2 separate regions of the Homo sapiens genome follow, and region 2 is linked to region 1. Evidence: promoter capture Hi-C in human tissues and cell types (Jung and others, 2019). All regions are on one chromosome and are shown on one strand. Each heading gives the region's core, a stretch centred on a gene start or on the middle of the fragment in contact. The rest is flanking DNA. Distances are from core to core; before and after follow the strand shown. Region 1 holds the start of PAQR3 (progestin and adipoQ receptor family member 3). Region 2 overlaps FRAS1 (Fraser extracellular matrix complex subunit 1).

What was found. The method cuts DNA at HindIII sites, captures the fragments that hold promoters and counts their contacts. A contact is called where the count stands out against the background at its distance.
Region 2: a fragment that was not itself captured here is called in contact with the fragment with the promoter of PAQR3 in region 1 in 1 of the 25 tissues and cell types used here (stomach).

What each region holds. Positions count from the first base shown.
Region 1 is chr4:78,936,891-78,942,141 of GRCh38, reverse strand. PAQR3 (progestin and adipoQ receptor family member 3) reads left to right here and starts at 2,704. Exons shown (of 6, transcript NM_001040202.2): 1 at 2,704-3,102. The coding sequence starts at 2,918. RefSeq lists silencers at 2,525-3,014, 3,105-3,174. The HindIII fragment of the contact is 22,278 bases long and covers 1-5,251 here.
Region 2 is chr4:78,063,468-78,068,399 of GRCh38, reverse strand. It overlaps FRAS1 (Fraser extracellular matrix complex subunit 1), which reads right to left. Exons shown (of 74, transcript NM_025074.7): 2 at 2,384-2,415. LOC107986293 (a long non-coding RNA gene) reads right to left here and starts at 494. Exons shown (of 2, transcript XR_001741746.1): 1 at 1-494. The HindIII fragment of the contact is 3,741 bases long and covers 1-3,737 here.

The DNA of each region.
Region 1 (5,251 bases), core at 1,455-3,954:
TAGTATCATATGGTACCAGCAAGAAATACGTGCAGAAGGAACCTCCTATAAGAGGTCTGTAGGAGTGGCAGGTAGGCATTCTCAGGCATGAACGTCCTACACTAGGAAATGAGAATTTCTATACACAGTAACCTTCAGCAGAGACAATGTACTGAGCATGTAGTAAGTTCTCAAACATTATTTTTAGCTCCATGACTTAAAAAATAAGTCTCACTTACTTCATAGGACATTTAAGTCCACTTAGGATATATTTCAATTTACCTTTCCAGTTTTATTGATTATTTTTCCTTGAACTCTCTATATAGCTTACATTTGTTGAGTGCTAACAGTATGTCTGGTACTTTTCTAAGACTGTTACATGGATTTAGTCATTTAATCCTCAACAACACAAAGTACTGTTATTAGTCTTATTCTACCAATAAGAAAACTGAGGCTCAGAGAGGTTAAGTTACCTGCACTAGGACATGTATTAATAGTTAGTAAATGATTGAACACAAATTCGAACTTAAGTAAATGGCTTCAAAGTCCAATATCTTAATCACTAAGCCATACTGCTTCTCAAAAATCAACCAATATTACTAGCATAATAATAATAGGTATTATGAGTGATTATTGTATGTTGTCAGGGTTCAGAACACCACACCCACCCCAAAGTGTGGTGCTTTGACATGCTGAGTACTTTAAAGGAGACTGGGAAGGCCTCAAAACTAAGGTCTCTCTGAACTTCTTTCCGTCCTCCTTTCTTCCTTTTCCTGTTCTTCCCAAGTGGGTCTTACAACCTAGAATTTCTCTCCCTAAAGGAAGCCATAAAACCTAGTAAGGGGCCGGGCGTGGTGGCTCACGCCTGTAATCTCAGCACTTTGGGAGGCTGAGGCAGGCATATTGTTTGAGGTCAGGAGTTCAAGGGCAGCCTGTCCAACATGGTGAAACCCCATCTCTACGAAAAGTACAAAAATTAGCCGGGCATGGTGGTGGGTGCCTGTAGTCCCAGCTACTCGGGAGGATGAGGCAGGAGAATTGCTTGTACCCGGGAGGTGGAGATTGCGTGACCCGAGATTGTGCCACTGCACTCCAGCCTGGGCTTCAGAGTGAGACTCTGTCTTCCCCCAACAACAACAACAACAAAAAATCTAGTAAGGTTACTTTCTGACTGTCCCTGCCTTTCCGTGGTCACAAAGGAGTTCTGACTTACCTCACCTGAAACTAGGTCATAAAACCCTCATTCTAGAGAGTTCCTGCCCCATACTCTGAGGCCAAGAATTTGAATGAACTGGCCTTGCTAGCTAGGATCCCCCCTCAGTTTATTATCATTAGATGATGCCCCCTTTCAATCATGTTTCTCCACAACTATCCACTCCTTTCATCAGACTTAGCATAAAAAGCCCATTTTTTCCTGGGTCTTTGTGTCTTCATTTCTGAAGACTCCTCTGTCACATAAAACTGTGTTAAATGAATTTATTATCCCTTTTCTTGTTAATTTTTATTATTTATTTTTTGAGACAAAGTCTCGCTTTGTCACCCAGACTGGAGTGCAGTGGCACAAACATGGCTCACTGCAGCCTCGACCTCCCAGGCTCAAGCAACCCTCTCACTTCAGCCCAGAATAGTTTGGGACTACAGGCGCCCATCACCACACCCGACTAATTTTTGTTTTTTGTTTGTTTGGTTGGTTTTTTTTGTAGCGACAGCGTCTCACTATGTTACCCAGGCTGGTCTCCAACTCCTGGGCATAAGCAATCCGCCTGCCTCGGCCTTCCAAAATGTTGGGATTACAGGCATGAGCCACCTGCGCCTGGCTTCTCTTAATTTTTTTCATAGGAATGTCAGCTGTGAACCTTGTGATAAGTGAGGACAAGATATTTTTCTTGCCCTTACAATGCCAAACAATGGACTAAGCGTTCTATTATACACATACGGTACTCAAACTGATGTTTTGCCCTGTTGCCATTATAAGTAAACACTTGCATTACAGTAAATAGCCAGAAACAAAGCTGCAACACTTCCTGTAAACGCTACTATAGCCGCACTCCACAGGATTTTTTAATATGTTCTATATTATTCAGTTAAGTAGATATTCTCATTTCCATTGTGATTTCTTCATCAGCCCTTGAAATATTTGGTGTATTGCTCCTATTCCAGACGTGGAGACTTTTAGTTTTCTTGTTACTCTAGTTTAATTCTACTGTGATCAGAGAACATAACGCTGAAAGGGGTCGGAGTTTTGAATGCACGGGGGCTTTCCTTTATGGCTCAGGATGTGCTCGATGCTGGTGTATGTTCCACGTGCATCAGGTTTCCTCTCTTTCCAATTATCGTGCTAAGAGCTGACTTCAGCTTAGAAATCCTCAAAGTCCCTTCTGACACTAAGTGTGTGTAATTCCAAGCATAAACTAAACGGTAATTACCTCGAACTTTTCTTCCTGTTAACTCTTTTCCTCTTGATTTTTCAAAATGCAGCAACTATTACTTCTAATAAAAAAACAGAAAAAGAAAAAAAATCCACTTGTATTCGCCTGTAGCTCTGTGCTTTCGGCTCTTCTCATATGCAAACGAAGACCCCAGGCGCCGCCAAAACACAGCGTGAGAGACGCCCGGGAGCCCGGGCCGCCGCCAGCGCACGCTCGAGCACACCCGGGCGCGCCCCAGCACCCTGCCCCTCCCAGCTAGGGCTGAGGGGCGGGGCCGCCGCGGCGCGCTGACGTCAGAGGAGGCTGCGACGCTGCCGGGTCCGCCGCGGCGCTGGCGGCAGTGGCCGGTGTGAGCGCAGAGCCGGGCCCTGGGCAGCAGCGGCAGCGCGGTAGGACCTCGCGCAGCGTCCGCGGGCTCCGGGGCGGGGGCGCCAGCGGCGAAGCCCCCTCCCCGGGGAGGCGGGACCTGGGGGAGCTCCCGAGCCGGGGAGCGGCGGCGGCCGGGAACGATGCATCAGAAGCTGCTGAAGAGCGCGCATTACATCGAGCTGGGCAGCTACCAGTACTGGCCGGTCCTGGTGCCCCGTGGCATCCGCCTGTACACCTACGAGCAGATCCCCGGGTCCCTCAAGGACAACCCGTACATCACCGACGGCTACCGGGCCTACCTGCCGTCCAGGCTGTGTATCAAAAGGTACGGTCTGGCTGCCTCCGCCTGGAGTGCCCCCTTCTCTCACCTACACCCTTTTTGTCTGGTCCCCCTTCTGCTTTCCCCGCCTTTCTGCTTGCCCATCATTTCCTCGCCGCCCCATCCTTTTCATCCCTTTTTGCCGCCTCTCCTCCCCCGTTATCTCCCCTTACCTGGCCGGGGTACTTGGTCCACGGAATAATCATGATAGTAACAGTGATCATAATTACAGCTCTCCTATGACGCTTTGCTCTTTACAAAGGGCTTTTACATCCTTTATTCGGTTTGTTCGGCTCATTGAGATATATATTGAAATGGGGCTGAGCCATATTTGCCCGGTGTATACCTTTCTTTTTAGAGCAACACTGTGGGAATTCAGTAGCTTTGGGCCAGATAAGTGCCTGTATAATAGGAAACAAGTTAACATATACACCCGAGATTTATTCATTTGGCAAATACTTATGGAGCCCATGCAGAAAAAAAAGCAAACATGGCCCTTGTTTTCATGAAGCTACTAAGGTGTAGCCTGGGTAACAGACATTAAATAGATAATTACACAATTACATAATAACCATTGTGGAAAAAATGCTGTGTAGGAAAAGTACTGTGGTAAAGAGAGCTCATAACGGGCACCCAGTCTCCACTAGAGCACCACAGAAGCATCTCTAAGAAAGAAATTTCTTTATCATTTTAAACCTTTAAAACCACAGTCCCTTGAAAATCCGTGTTTTAAAAAAACAAAACTGAAAAATAACTATTCTAGTTCTTGGAGTAACTGTCCAAACTTACTACCTGTACTAAAATACAGGACCTCTGCTTCAGGAGAATTAAGATACAGGTGTTGGTTAGCTCCAGGTCGCTGTAGTGGCAAACCCTAGTGCCAGAATGTGGGCTGTTGAATTGCTCAAGCGGCAACCACATGTCTGATTCTTGATTTTTCCAGCATTGTCTTTTCCTGCCCTTCTTTCCTTTTGTCCTGCCATGAAAGTGTTTCTGTGACTCATGGTCACAAGGTGACATCACTGCCCATCCCTACTTGGCTTGAATGGATGGCCCTTAGGATTCACAACTTGAAGCGTAATTACCGTTTTCCTCCCCAGTGCCTCCTGTGCATGAGTAAATTACACAGCTGAGTTCTGCTGTGGATCTGGAGTTCCACAAGAATAGGGCAAGCAGTGAATTGCCTTAAATATTTTCTACTCAACTAGCAGTGGTCTTCTGCGTTCTGATGTTAGGGTCCAAATCTCATGGAGTGGAAAATTAAGTATAGAGCATTAGCTCTTGAGCTATTGAGTCAAAGACTTTAGTATCCAAATCTGCCACTTAACAGCTCTGAGACCTGGAGCAAAATGTAACCTCACTGAGCCTCATTATACCCACATATAAAAATGAGGGTAATCACAGTATCTGCTTCCAGAGGTAAAAAAAGATTCAGTAAGATTCTGTGTGTGAAATGCTATACATGGCCTGGAACCTAATAAGCCGTCAATAAATGGTGATTGTTGTCATCACCAGTGGTTGTGAAGCTGAACAGATGATGATAATGAAGATGATTATTTGATTTTAAAACTGAACAGAATACGAAGATGTGGTGCTGGACTCCTGTTAACTTCAATAAGGATGGCACCAGGTTCGAAAGACGGAAGAAGAGACCCAAAGCCAGTAAACAAGACATAGGGTTTTACTAGGGTAATTTACAGAGAGGTCCAGTGACAGTGGCCTGAACGGGAGAACCTCTGCCGCCTGCAGAAAGCATGCAGTTTAAATAGCATTTTTACTTAGCACCCTTCCCCCTAACAACCTCCATCTGGTAATCTTCATTTGCAAAACAAAAGGCCTCCATCCCATGTACAGTCAGCATTCCATGAGATGGGACAGGGGCTCAGATGTTCCTCATAGATAAGGAATCAGTCTAAGGGTTGGCCGTGCTTGGAATTGTAAACACACATTCAAGTGTGTTTTTCATATAGGGTCATTCTCAGGGTATGCTTAAGATACTGCTGTCAGGTGTGTCTACTGTGCAGGAGACACCTAACTTTTCGTACAGTAAGAGTAGATTCTTTATTGGAGATGTTCTTGCCTTCCCACCAGCCTTATCTTTTCCAAGTTTAGCCTTTGCCCTCTCTCCTTTTGGCTTTCAGGAGTGACGGGGACA
Region 2 (4,932 bases), core at 618-3,117, 870 kb after region 1:
TTCTCTCCCCTTGGGTATCCACCAGGCTAGCTCCTTATAATTACCTCTTTCAGTATGTCTTTGATCAAATGTCACCTTCTCAGTGAAGCCTTCCCTATCACCCTATCTAAAGTAGCCACCTTCATCCCCTATTGAGCCTTTTCTATCCGTTCCACCTCCACAATATTTTTCCCCATAGCCCACCTATCTGACATTCTATATATTTTACTTATTAGAATTCAAGCTCTATGAAGGCAGGCATTTTCATCTGTTTGTTCACAGATGCATTCCAGTGCATAGAATAGCAGGTCTCTAATTGTCATTCAATAAATATTTGTTTAATAATTTTATTATTGTAATAAATATATTGTCTCTCAGACTGAATTGCATAACTACAATAACAAGTATCTCAGGCTTGAAGAGGTTCAGAAACAAATGTAGCAGGCCAGGCTCAGTGGCTTATGCCTGTAATCCCAGCACTTTGAGATCAGGAATTCAAGACCAGCCTGGCCAACATGCCAAAACCCCGTCTCTACTAAAAATACAAAAAAAAAAAAAAATTGGCTGGGTGTGGTGGTGTGCAGCTGTAGTCCCATCTACTTGGGAGGCTGAAGCAGGAGAATCACTTGAACCCTAGAGGCAGAGGTTGCAGTGAGCCAAGATCCCTGCACTCCAGCCTGGGTGACAGAGCGAGACCCTATCTTACAAATAATAATAATAATAATAATAATAATAATAATAATAATAAAAGAAAGAAAAAAAAAGAAAAAGAAACAAATGTAGCAGAGCCTTGGTAAGCAAAGAAGTCACCTGGAAGAATGAGGAGCGTGCTGGTGTGGGAGGGTGCAGCCCACTAATCTTGAGCAGCCATGAGCCCTGGGATCAGCTAGGGCATGGTACAGAGGGAAGCAAGGTCATCCAATAAATTCAAGTTGGCTGGGCTGTTTCTCCTTTTAACTTGATCAAACTGACCTCTCCAATTACTTGATCCTTTCATATTCAAATGTACAATAACACATAGCAAAGTTAAATATAGAAGATGGTCTAGCCACTTTTTTTCACATATAGGCAGAACAACAGAAGAAGACAGGATGTCTTGTTCTGGTCCACCACTAATGGTGAATTACCTCTAGCAAATCTCTTCATCTCTCTCTCTCATCTTTTCCATTAAAAGGGGAAAGAGTATGGAATGATACATGGCCTGCCTATTTCATTGGTCTATTATAAGTATCAGACATATGAATACTTATGAAAATATATGGAAAAGTTATGAAGTACTCTACACAATAAATAATTCTCTTTTATTAGCACGGATAACTGACTTGTCTAAATATCTACTGTAGCTCCCCAAAAGTGATAATATATTTTAGAGCAAATGATTCCTAAAATATATTAAAGAATAAACAGGGCAGGATATGGAATGACAAATACAATAAAAATGGCTTTTTCCTAATTTTTGATAGAAAAATATTTAAAAAATAAACTTCTCCAGCAGTAACTACAGTATATAAAGTGCAGATTCAAGGATATTATGGTGAATATCTACAGTTATCTAGACTCTAAGATACTTCAGATATTCCTCAGCTATTTCAATACCACAAGGATAATCCAGGATGACTTATCAATATCACACATGTCAATAGCAGGTTGTGATGTAAATGAGCAAATTCTTTCCAACCATCTCAGTTCAGTTTTATTATAGCATTTATTAAACCAAAATAAAAACATGGTGAAGAATGATTTGTCACACCATTTATTAGAGTTGATGGAGTGTAGACAGTCTTTTCAATAAGGCTTTAACACACTGTTATGCACCATAGTGCATTAGTAATGAAAAGAAATGCATGAGACTTACATCAGCCTTTCCCCCAAGTCATTCTGACATTAAATTCAAAATCAATTTTACCCTATATGGCAAGAGTTCAGAAATAAATGTTAATTTCTTTGCTGTTCACCAAAACTTAAGTTTATAATTCAAAGTAACAACAGAAATCCTTCCTATTCTACTTAATTTAATAATCATACTTTTTTTGGAGAAGGGTTCAAAGTGGGAAGCAAATGCAACCAGAAGTTAAAAAATTGTGTTTCAGTTTGTATCTGACAAAAGGATGGGATCTAATTTTCTCTCTGATTAAAAGAACACAAAGAACAGCCACAGAATGTAAATCGTGTGTTGAGTGTTTGAATTTCTCTTCCAATACCTGAGTATCTGAATAGAACTAATTCACTCTGGAAAAGGTATTAAATAATTGAGCATCATTGTGCCCGAATGAGGGCTAATTGTCAAACGTTGAAGAAAAATAAACATATTCTACAATGATAGGGTCAACTCACTCACTCAGGAACTTCAATCAAGCATTTTACATTCAAATGACAGAAACCAAGTATGTAAAGAATGACCTACCGCCAACAAGGAATCCTGATAGACACAAGCACCTGTGGGGAAAAACAAAACAAGAATTAAAAGGGATGCATAATAAACCAATAGGCACTGCCCCAGCAAGCTTGCTGCTAAAACTGCATCTATATGCATCATAACCAGGAAAATGAGCTTCTTCCAAAATCTTAAAAGCTTCAGCATTCTTCCCCTGGGGAAATAACCCCATACACCAAAACAACATTCCTTGGACACACATGAGGAAAAGCATCATTAAAACTTATGACTTGAATTTTAAGATAAATGTGTTTATAACGACATGCTATAAATACAGTAAATATTTTTCTTGGTGATAAGTCAGCAAAGCCTCCATAATCCAGTCCCATTTACTTATCCAGGCTTCCCTGCCACTGTTTGCTTACACTAAGCCTCCAGTCCAACCCAAGAGGCCAACTTAGAATCCTGTAATATATTTACATGTCTCAATGCCTTTGCTCATTTTCATTTTCTACAGGAGATGTACTTTGTCTAGTCAAGCTCTTTGAACTTGATCCCATCTCCTTTGTGAAACTTCTGCCCACCAGATTATGCTCCTCTGAGCTCCTAGCATTTTGTGCCTACATCCTCCATTTGTGAATTTATTCTTGTGTATTTCCTTTCTAAGGATGTTGAAATGTTGTATTTACCCCACTACATTATATATATGTGTGTGTGTACTACATATAGAGAGAATATATACACTATATATACCATTACATATATACTATTACATATATAGTATATACATATATATACACATGTATACCCACTATATACTATATACCATATATAGTACATATATAGTATATACACATATATACACATATATATACATATATACCCACTATATACTATATATAGTATATATATAATATATAGTATAAATAGCATATGTAGTATTTAGTGTGTGTGTGTGTATGTATATATATATATATATATATATATACACTATAAAACTGAAATCTTAACTTAAAAAAAATATAGACACATTCCCAACCAATTTTTGAGCTGCACAACAGGTCTTGATTTAACTTAGAAAGAGATGGGCAGTGTGCTGTCACCTACTCTCTCAGAAACTGAGTCTGCAAAACACATTTGAACAGTATATACACACCAAGGTGAAGCATATCTTAACAATGCTCCACACAGTTGGTTTCTAAAGAGAGAAGGACATTATTTTACCACAGTGCTTACCTCTAATGGATCATTTATGAAGTCCCAATAATATTAACTTCTCAGGAAAGAATTGGTCTACCTTCTCCTCCAGTAATGGAATTAAGAACAATCTTTAAAAAAACTGAGATGACTATTTACACTTAGGTTTGAATCAAAGATCTCTGTGGGCAAATTTATTGAAATAATTTTTATGTCCCTGATATTCTTTTTTTTTTTCTTGGTATACAACAATTTTATTGGTGTTTTAATATAATTCACCCAGAATATGAAGGCATCACATTAGCTAAGTACAAGGCATATGTATAAGCAAAAATTATAAATTTATGACACCCTTGTGCCTTTCTCCTAATGACATTTCCAACTTTTAATGGTTTGTATTTCTTCCTCTGCAGACATAGGATAATTAATATAAATATGTCATTTTTGAGTTTATATTTTACACAAACTTATTATTTTACTTTAAAATAGTTTCTAGCCATGGCATTAATATTTATTAAAATTTCTGTACATATGAAAAAAGGAATTTATTTCTATACATATGAAAGAAAGGAATAGGGAGTGTCTATAAATGAATGATTTTATAGACACTCCCTATTTTTTTATTTTATTTATTTATTTATTTTTATTATTATTCTTTAAGTTCTAATAAGAATAACTTGAGATAAAACCTTGAAGGAAAATTCTTCTTAATTGACTACTTTTTCCTTAAGAAATCTTGTTCCAAGACTTAGTAGTTCAGTCTATGGTATGTTATAAGAAAGGAAATATATATATGTGTACATATGTATGTGTGTGATGTGTGTACTAAAATAATTCTATATATCTCAAATAAATACATATGAACACAATTCACTTTCTAAATTACTTATATGGACATATTTAATTATTTCTGGTGTTTAGAAAATTTAGAATAAAGATCATCATCACTTAGGTACAATTTAACAAAATTTAAACTTTAGATTAAACAAAACTTAACTTTTAGAAAAAACACAAACAAAATTTAATCTTTAAAATAAGACTATCCTCAAATAATTTTATTGCTCTCCACAGCATTACCTTCCAAAGTCAATTTCTTTTCAAAGCTCCAAAGGAAATCAAGCACCTTAAGAAGTATCTGAGTACCCATATCAAAACCTATTTTTGGAAGTTTAGATAGCCATGATAAACTCACTGCAGTATGAAAAAAATAAAGTAGCACTGAGTGTGGCACCACATCTATACCTGGGCAAGCCATGCATCTGCTGGAGACTCAAGCCAAAATGGTGTAGAGCTGCTGAAAAATTATATCATTAGGAAAAGGAATTAATTCAATTTGGGTTGCTTTGTATTGTACAATTCCAAAAGAAATAAGCTTTGCCCTC